3 separate regions of the Homo sapiens genome follow, and all the other regions are linked to region 2. The links are contacts of gene promoters, found by promoter capture Hi-C in blood cells and fetal thymus (Javierre and others, 2016). All regions are on one chromosome and are shown on one strand. Each heading gives the region's core, a stretch centred on a gene start or on the middle of the fragment in contact. The rest is flanking DNA. Distances are from core to core; before and after follow the strand shown.

Region 1 (3,134 bases), core at 117-2,616, 670 kb after region 2:
TAGTAACTCAAGATGTTTTTGTCAATAAGTGGTAGATATGAATAAAGAAGTTTCTTTAATAAAATACTTTCTATACCAATTTGATCTAGGGTTTCCATGAGAAAGGTAAACAGGGAGTATGAGACATAAGTGATCAGAGTAGACATCCAAATCCCTGCAGAATGAGTATGATACCAATCATAAATGATATTCTACTTTCTGAGTATTTACAGGGTACTGGTTTTTAAAACCTGCATTCTATATGTATATGTATATTATCACATCTCTTTTTCATAACACAGTCATGAGAATGCTACTCACAGCCTTATACATAAGAGAAAACTGAAATACATAGGATTTAAAAATATTCCCCAAGTTCACAAAGATAGTGAGTGTGCTAAATGTAAATTATATGTACTTTATGTATCTTTTCTTATTTGTTCTTCCTTACACTAACTTGATGATGTCATTATTAGTCACATTTCATATTTCTAAATACTGAGGAAATGAGAGGTTAAATCTTCATTTAAGATACTGCTTTTGAGGGCCAAGATGACTAGCTAGAAACAGGTAGTGTGTACCACTCTTGTAGAGAGAAGAGAGTAGCAAGTAAATGCTAGATCTTCAACTGGAACATCCAGGTGGACCATTGAGATCCACCGAGAAAACAACTTTACCCATGGAGAATAGAGAAGAGTGAGACAAGACAATTGCTCACCTGGGAATGGCACGGAGCCAGAGGAGGCTTCTCCACTGCAGGGAAATGGTGAGTGAGTGAGAGTCTCTGGGGACCCATACTTCTGCCACGGACCTTTGCCACCCTGGGCTCAGGAGATACCCCTATGAGACCACCCCACTGGAGCCTTCAGATTGAGAGGGAAAGCTAAGTGGAGCCTGGGCAGAGCCACCACTCAGGCATACAAGGAACCCTTGGAGCCTTGGATCCAAGTATCCTGGAATTAGCGGCTGCAGCTCTGGCAATAGGGGAGGTCAGGCTGCCTCACAGGCCTTCAGAAAAGGAGCTGAATCCAGGGGACTAAGCAGCACTGGACTCTAAGCCTCGCCTCCACTGCACCTCACAGGATAAAGTCCACTAGCCTAGTACTCCAGCCACCCCCCTGCCTGAGCTCATGGGCCGGTAGCAGCTCTGCACTTCCCTGGGTTGGAGCCCCCAGAGGGAGAGGAAGCCCACCATTTTTGCTGTTTCACAGCCATTGTCACGGCTGCCTTCAGGCCCTGGAGAGTGTGTGGTGATTAGGGACTGGCTGGATCCCCAGCACAGCACAGATGCCTCATGAAAAAGTGGCCAGACTGTTTTATACGTGGATTCCCGATGCCAGTTCTCCTCACTGGGCAGGACCTCCTGACTTCAGACTCCAGTTACTCCCTACCTGGGCTTTGGTGACTATAGCATCTCTATACTTCCCTGGGATGGAGCTCCTAGAGGGAAAGGTAGGCTGCCATTTTTTCTGTCTTGCAGCCCTTGCACCAGTTGCCTTCAGGTTCTGAAGGATGGGCAGTGATTAGTGATGGGCGGATCCCCAACACACTGGAGCCACCCCACGGAGAAGTGATCGGACCGTTGTATCCGTGGGTCCCTGTTCACATTTCTCCTCACTGGGTGGGGCCTTCAGGCCTAGGACTCGAACACAATTACCCTGCCCCCTCCTGAACACTTCAGTGGAAAGCAGCTTTGCATTTGTCTCAGGAGAAAATCTCAGAGACAACCCACAACTCCTCCACCATTGCAGCTGCAGTGGCACTGCCCTAACTGCTCTCGAGCTGGGAAAGAAACAAAGGGCCTGGTCACTACACTGGCACCTCCAGCACACAGCAGCGAGCATTGGAGAGGAGTCCAGTCTCTCTTCCCTATGAGCTCCCAGCCCTACTCTTCATCAGACAGGGCTCCTGGCTTTGAACTGCAAAACAGCTGCCCCACCCATGGCTAAGCATACGGTCTGCTAGTAACTCTGTGTTTCCCTGGGGAGGGGGTCCCAGAGGCAACTGACAGCCCCACTGCAACGGCCACAGCAGTGGTTCTGCCCCTGATCCCCTTAGTTCAAGGAAGAAACAAAGACCCCGAGAGTTTCACCTGCGCTTCCAGCACACCACAGTCACCATACAGGCAGCAAAGCACAGTCCCTCCTCCCTATGAATCCTCAGTGCCCCACTCCTCAACGAGCTGAGCCCCTAGTTGTGGCCAGCAATGTAACTTCCCATTCTCTAGCTGAACATTCCCAGTAGCAGCGGCTCTGCATCTCTCTGAGGTGCAGCTCCCAGAGGCAACCAAAAGCCCCTCTGCCACTGCTGCTGCAGTGGTACTGCCCTGCTGCCTTCAGACTGGGGAAGGAACTGCAGTTGCCCTAAGGAGAAGAACTCAGTCTATCTCTCTTGTGACCCACCCGTAGCCCTGCTCTTCACCAAACCGGGACCCTCTGGCTTGGGCCCACAGCACAGCTGCCCCATCTTTGGCCAATTGCACTGGCTGATAGCAGCTCCTCGTTTCTCTGGGGTGGACCACCAAGAGTCAAGTGAAAGGCCCTCTGCCATAACCACTGCTAAGGTTTCTTCTGCTGCAGCCTTCAAGCTGGCGAGGGAACATAAAATCTGAGCTCATCCCAGAGCTGCAGTGTGCCAAGCCAAGATCTGGAGCCAGTACTCAAGTGGGAAAGGAGCCCACACTTTCAGAGCACTGAGAGGGAGCATGCCCTGCATATGGCAGAGCAAGAGCCTACCTACTGGCCAATACACTTAAGCACCACCTACTGGATCACAGCCCAAAACTTCAACACCAAAAATATTTTGCTAATATAGACCCCTGTGTAACCATGGACAAGAATTTAGCTAGAAATTAAAACCCTGCACAAAGCCTCAGCTCTCTAACAACATCCAGGAAAGAAGGTTTCTAACTACTCAAAAGAAACAGTGCAAGAACTCTGGCAATTCAGAAAGCCAGAGTGTCTTGTTTCCTCCAAAAGATTGCACTAGTTCCCCAGCAAGGGTTCTTAACCAGGCTGAAATGGCTGAAATGACAGAAATAGAATTCAGAATATGGGTAGGAATTAAGATAATTGACATTCAAGAGAAAGTTAAAACTCAGCTCAAGAAATCTAAGGGTTTCAATAAAATGATACAGGAGCTGATAGAAAAAATGG
Region 2 (3,142 bases), core at 208-2,707:
ACTACAGCCCTGACTTTCAGGGCTCAAAAGATCTTCCTGCCTCTGCCTCCCATTTAGCTGGGACTACAGGCATGTGCCACCACATTTGGCCAACTTTTTAATTTTTTTATCGAGATGAGGTCTAACTTTGTTGCCCAGGCTGGTCTCAAACTCCTGGGCTCAAGTGATCTTCCCACCTTGGTCTCCCAAAGTGCTGGGATTACAGGCATGAGTCATTGTGCCTAGCACAAATTCATGCCCAGATTTTAAGTGACTGCTCCAATGCATTCAGTGAATAATTAATATGATTTAAGAAACACTATAATAATAAATGTATTTCCTGGATCTCAAAAAAACTGTGTTCATGTATTTACACATATTAACCAGCCAGGGTCACTGATAAGTCACTGAATACTTCATATAAACTACTTAAATCAAACATTGACAAATGCTGCCCTTTTTATACAATGTGTTTTGGTCAGATCACAAAACAACTTAAATTTGGATTTTTGTGGTCTCCCCATGTATGAGTCCTCTTGAAAAGCTGCATGTTCTGACTATCACAATCGTATACCATTCCACACTGTACAGAATTTTCAGTATTTAGTTGAGATGCATGCTGTTCTTCCAGGACTTCAAATTATGAACTTCCCAGGGGGTTAGTCAGTCAAAATGCTGCTCTAGAGAATATAGTTCTAAGTAGATTTGTATCTGGGATTCTATACATTGAAATTAAAATCACAATGCATTTTAATTTTTTGTTTAAACATCTGCAGTTTAAAACTCTTTGATAGAAGAGATTACATTGTTAACCTCTGTGTGTTTATATGCCTAGTAAGACACTGGTATCAACCATGTACTATGTAATTTTTTAGTGAATGACTATACAGATTAAATGCAGTAGAAGGGCTTCTTTATATTTGTTATGGTCCTATGCATTCTGAATGGCTGCAATTTAATCTCTAAGGATAATGTAGAGTGGACTGTAGTTTATATAATTGTGCAGGGAAATCTTGGAAGATGTAAAAAGCAACGTCTCCAATTTATAAAAGAATCAGTGAGAATGAGGAAATAAGAAAGATGGGTGAAAAGAGGTGAAATTGGAAAGAGAAAACTTTGAGGACATTCAAAAGGGGGAAAGAAAGAATGGAGTGATGAGAAGAGGGGACACTATGGAGAGTGGAGGCAAAGTTAAGTGGAGAAACTGGAAGAACTGTGATCTATTAAAACAAGCAGGAACTGAAAAAATGACATGGTTTCTCCTTTTTATCTTACAAATGACATGCAAAATCCAGAGGGACAAAATGACCTTTCTTTCAATGCCATACACCACTTTGTCTAAGGCAGTTGAGGAAGGGAAGTAGATATAATGGAGCTTAGTGGCAGAGCAGCTGGAATCCTGAGAGAAGAGAATAACTTTAGTTCAGAGCAGGTGGGGAAATGAGAGATTGAGTAGGAGGACCAAGGTTGAGGGAAGCAGATCTTCTTAGTTGCTGTCAGCGGCTGATGGGGAAGATTGTTGGTAGAAGGAAGTCAGAATATAGGTACAGAGGGATAAGTTTGCTAAGAACAGAGATCAGCAAACAGCTTTTCTGAGAGAAAGAAACATCTGCAAATGACATGCTGTTTCTGCAGTTTCTGCTGCTAGCTCTTCTTCTCCCAGGTGGTGACAATGCAGACGGTAAGAACATCGCTGTCAGCTGCAAGGTTACATGTATCTGGGTAGAGTGTGCTGGGCTTTCCCGAGATGGATCAATAGAGATGCCAGAATGCTTGCCATCTGAGCATACCTGTCTCCAGGTCCAGTTTACTCTTTTGGAGGATGGTGGCAGAGCATGGGCTCTGTGTAAGGAAAATGTTATAGCTAAAGTAGTCATTAATGTTTCTCTGTGGTAACTGGTTCAATTTCCATTTCCTCTCCATTTTCCGTTAAAACAATCAGGGCCCAGGAAAATGATGTGGTTTCTCCTTTTTATGTTACAAATGACACGCAAGGTCCAGAGGGATGAAGCAACCTTTCAATGCCACGCACCACTTTGTCTAAGGCAGTTGAGGAAGGGAAGTAGATAAGATGGAGCTTAGTGGGAGAGCAGCTAAAATCCTAAGGGAAGAGAGTAACTTTAGTTCAGAGCAGATGGGGAAATGAGAGATTGAGTAGGAGGCCTAAGGTTAAGGGAAGCAGATTGTCTTAGTTGCTGTCAGTGGCTGATGGGGAAGATTGTCTGTTGGTAGAAGGAAGTCAGAATATAGATGTAGAGGGATAAGTTTGCTAAGAACAGAGATCAGCAAATGGCTTTTCTGAGAGAAGGAAACAACTGCAAATGACATGCTGTTTCTGTAGTTTCCGCTGCTAGTTCTTCTCCTCCCCGGTGGTGACAATGCAGATAGTATGAACATCTCTGTCAGCTGCAAGGTTACATGTATCTGGGTTGAGCATGATGGGCTTTCCCAAGATGGATCAATGAAGAAGCCAGAATGGTTGCCATTTGAGCATACCTCTCTCCAGGTCCAGTTTACTCTTTTAGAGGATGGTGGCAGAGCATGGGGCTCTGTGTAAGGAAAATGGTATAGCTAAAGTAGTCATTAATGTTTCTCTGTGGTAACTGGTTCACCTTCCATTTTCTCTCCATTTTCCTTGCCTCTCTTTTTTTTTTTTTCCTTACACTACTTGCCCTTCTTCCACCAAAAGCATCCCAGGAACACGTCTCCTTCCATGTCATCCAGATCTTCTCATTTGTCAACCAATCCTGGGCACGAGGTCAGGGCTCAGGATGGCTGGACGAGTTGCAGACTCATGGCTGGGACAGTGAATCAGGCACAATAATTTTCCTGCATAACTGGTCCAAGGGCAACTTCAGCAATGAAGAGTTGTCAGACCTAGAGTTGTTATTTCGTTTCTACCTCTTTGGATTAACTCGGGAGATTCAAGACCATGCAAGTCAAGATTACTCGAAATGTAAGTTCAATCATCTAAATTATGGGAGTTCTTTAGAATGTTCTATTTCAGGGAAATATTCTCTACTAATTTTTGGGCCATTTCCCATTATCCCATCCCACCATAAAATTCTGCATAGATGAACCTTTTAAGGGATATTCCTGATGTTGACTCCCTCAAATTTCCTAGGCTCTTGCTATTTTTGGAATTTTTTTTCTTGTGCTTTGT
Region 3 (3,366 bases), core at 42-2,541, 800 kb after region 2:
TATTCTTATTTTATAGATGAGAAAATAGAGGCTTAGCGGTGTTTGTGAATGGACTAAGGTCATACAATTAGTGAATGGTAGAAATAAGATTTGAACTTCATCTGGTGTAGCCAAAGCACATCCTCCTAAGCACTAAAAAACACTGCCTCCTGGTGGCAAGATGAAGAAGTTCAACTCCATAACCAAAAGGATAAAAACCAAGGTAGATCAGGATAGAAGCACAGAAGGTAGACATAAAGCATGTCACTTGCTTAAAGAAGCCCCTGTGTTGGATTGTTTGTTCAACCCCCTTACCTACAGGCTCCCCTGCTTAGTTTCACTATCTGGTTCTCCCTTAAGAAGTTTCTTTCCTAGTTTCACTCCTTTACTCTCAGGATAGCTGAATGCAAAACCAAACAAACAAACACAGGATCACTCTGCTTAGTTCTTTAAATTATGTACCAGTCAAAACAAAAATGGCCACTCAAAACATGTACCCTGAGTCCCAGAATCACACAATCATAAGAATATACACATGGTTTCCTACGACGAAGTTATTCTTCTAAGCTTTCCATAAATCACTGCTCTTTCATCTCTGCCCTACCTATTCTATCGGTTTTTAGTTCAGTAACTATTTGTTTTCAGTAACTGGACCCTAGACCCTTCAACCAGACAACCAAAGTGCCTATTTTCCCAGCTGCTAGAAGTGTTACAGCTGACACCTGAGTCTGTGTTCCAGGACTGCCCTATGCTGAAGGGAACTGCCTTCCCCAAGGTTGCATCCTTCCATGGAGAAAGCCTGAAGCCAAGGATTTAGGGTCTATGAGGAGGTTCAAGGTCACAGCCTTCTTGCCTCACTTAGGCATAACTAGAGGCCATCCCAGCTCTAGGGTTCCCAGGGGGATTGGCTGCAGCCCTCACTGCAATTTAACTTCTCCCTCCGCCCAACCCAGTTTCCCTCTCTCCTTTATAGGTGTTCCCAAGAGCACCCTCTAATAAACTTCTTGCAGGCAAATCTAACAGTCTGTTTCTTGGGGACCCAACATAAGACAACATTCAACTCTTAACTTCAGTCATATTCACAAATACTGTCACTTTAAATAAAGTGCAGGAATGCAGTGTAAAGATACATACACCAGAAAAAGATGTGACTATAAAGTGCAAAAATATACCAGAATGTAAAAATAATACATGAATTTAAAGTCCATGAATCAGTCTCTCTCGCATACTGCTAGAAAGCGTGTGACTGCTTCACATTTCATAATTTTGTCATTGTAATTGTCATCACGCCACTAAAATTCCATGCCTTTCAATTTTTGTTTTTGTTTCTATCTCTAAATAAAAATGTTTATTTAAATGCCTTCTATGGACACTTCAGACCAAGTCCAAAACTTTACCTTAAGGTGAAAACTCTTACTATTTTTCCTACAAGGTTGTGTTTGGGAGGTTATTCATTTGTCTTTTATTTTTTACCATGAGCTGTTTGTCTAGTCTCCTGACATGGTAACTGGAGACACAGATCCCTCTGTCAGAGTCAGCATCAAACATGTGTAAGGCATGTTTTGACTCTAGCAAACCATCAGGGAAATAATTTTTGATCGTTCTTTGAGTTAAAATTGTCTTTTACATTGATGCTAAAGACTTTCCCTAAGCAACCTCTACCACATTAGCATAAAGTGTCTGAGTTTCAAAGATTCCACCTCAAATGGCTCCCTTGTGTTCAGCACCATCACTCCCTCCTGGTATTCTTCTTCCTGAGTAACTTCCTATTGACCTCCTTTCCCTTTCAGTCTCTTGCTGAAATGGAAACATCAGAATGAAGGGGCAGGCTGTATGTGGGAAAGATGAATCACCATTAAATGAGAAACCTCAATCCTAATGCTAGTCTTGTAGAAATTGGCTTGTATGGTCCTGAGAATGGTAAAAATAATTAATACAAATAACTTTAAACATTACTTAATAAAGTAACAAATAATACAGCTAGAAAAGAGAATGATAGGATAAAGGTTACATTTTTTATATTTAGCCATTCTTGGTCTTATAAGTGTAGAAGACAGAAAAGCTTGTGTCCAATCCTATTAATACCTTAAAGCCATGTGTGGCATTACAACCACTGAAAAAATGCTGGGTAGAGTCAGTCCACAATGACATGCTTGTCACGACGTGCTTTGGCAGGTTCTGCCTTTCCCTTTACTTATTCTAGGCTGGGTCCCTTTTGACTACTGTCAGCAGTGAAGAGGAGGAGAAACTCCTCTGATTTCTGAAGATTCACAAGTTACAAGACTATCTTATATGCTTGAGGATGGCCAGCATGTAACTGGTGACAATGAACAAAATTATATACTTACAAAGTGCAATCGTTACATTATCCTGATCATCTCTTGTGTTGACAGCAATCTGTAGGATGGGATGAATCAAGGCAGCCAGCTGAAGTCCTGCCCTCTGGATGCCCTTGGGGGAAGGTATTTGGAGAGTAACTTAGGGGGTGATGTATAAAGGATGTGGTAACAAATGTTATGAGTGTGTGTGTGTTCACTGACACACCAGCAATTGCCAAAGCAAAAATGGTGGCTTCGTCCCTCTCTATTGAAAAGGGCCTGCTTAGAATGTGGATGCTTAAACTGCTGTCACCTATAAAAATATTCTAGCATGAAAGGGGCCTCAAGGATACACAAAACAGAAAGTAAATGGTATCCACTGAAGTTAGCAATGTAGCAGGGCCACAGGAAACAGAGGGTGATTGCCCAAGGGCACACACACCCTAAACATAGTCCTATTTCTAATGTTCAAATTAAGGAAAAAAACAATTAAGTGAAATCCTTAGGTGAGTCATCTTATCATGAATTAAAAATTATTGAAAAAAGAGGGCAATTATAACCTAACAATTCTAATTCCTGATATTTGCTGTAGGAAACAAATATATAAACTCATTTAAATAAATGACTATTCACAATTTTAGCAGTAAAACATGAAAATATTATCTGAACATGCAAAACTAAGAGACTAACCACCAAAGTGACTCAGGAAATGATTCACCATGTTGCATAAGCTGAAAACAATTAAGTTACTACATAATATGTAGAAGATGGCCTAAATGTTATAAATATATATATGCAGCAGGAGTTTGTAATAGCAGATAACAATTTTAGCCCTAACTATGAATAAGTTAAACTCCAAAAACATACTCCGCAATTACACAGATTAGAGACTGGCCCCTCTTCTGGACCCAGGCCCACATTATCAGACTGAAGGAGGTTAAAGCTTATTTTCTGAGGACAAGGAAGAACACGGTGAAGGGTAAGGTGGGAGAGGTGGGGAAGCATAGGCAACATCATGTCAGGAAGTGGAGAAGGAGGTGAATCCTCATGTCCTAAGTATTCTCTAGGC

What was found. The method cuts DNA at HindIII sites, captures the fragments that hold promoters and counts their contacts. A CHiCAGO score of 5 or more calls a contact.
Region 1: a fragment that was not itself captured here is called in contact with the fragment with the promoter of CD1C in region 2 in 1 of 17 cell types (neutrophils); the score reaches 5.8 in neutrophils.
Region 3: a fragment that was not itself captured here is called in contact with the fragment with the promoter of CD1C in region 2 in 1 of 17 cell types (erythroblasts); the score reaches 5.2 in erythroblasts.

The regions. Positions count from the first base shown.
Region 1 is chr1:158,960,890-158,964,023 of GRCh38, forward strand. All of the region lies in intron 7 of PYHIN1 (pyrin and HIN domain family member 1), which reads left to right. Among named protein-coding and RNA genes, the nearest start is that of PYHIN1, 31 kb to the left of the region's middle. The HindIII fragment of the contact is 4,341 bases long and covers 1-3,134 here.
Region 2 is chr1:158,288,466-158,291,607 of GRCh38, forward strand. CD1C (CD1c molecule) reads left to right here and starts at 1,458. Exons shown (of 6, transcript NM_001765.3): 1 at 1,458-1,660; 2 at 2,669-2,935. The coding sequence starts at 1,600. It also overlaps a transcript of CD1B not described here. The HindIII fragment of the contact is 9,220 bases long and covers 1-3,142 here.
Region 3 is chr1:159,089,242-159,092,607 of GRCh38, forward strand. It overlaps a transcript of AIM2 not described here. Among named protein-coding and RNA genes, the nearest start is that of AIM2, 14 kb to the left of the region's middle. The HindIII fragment of the contact is 1,495 bases long and covers 545-2,039 here.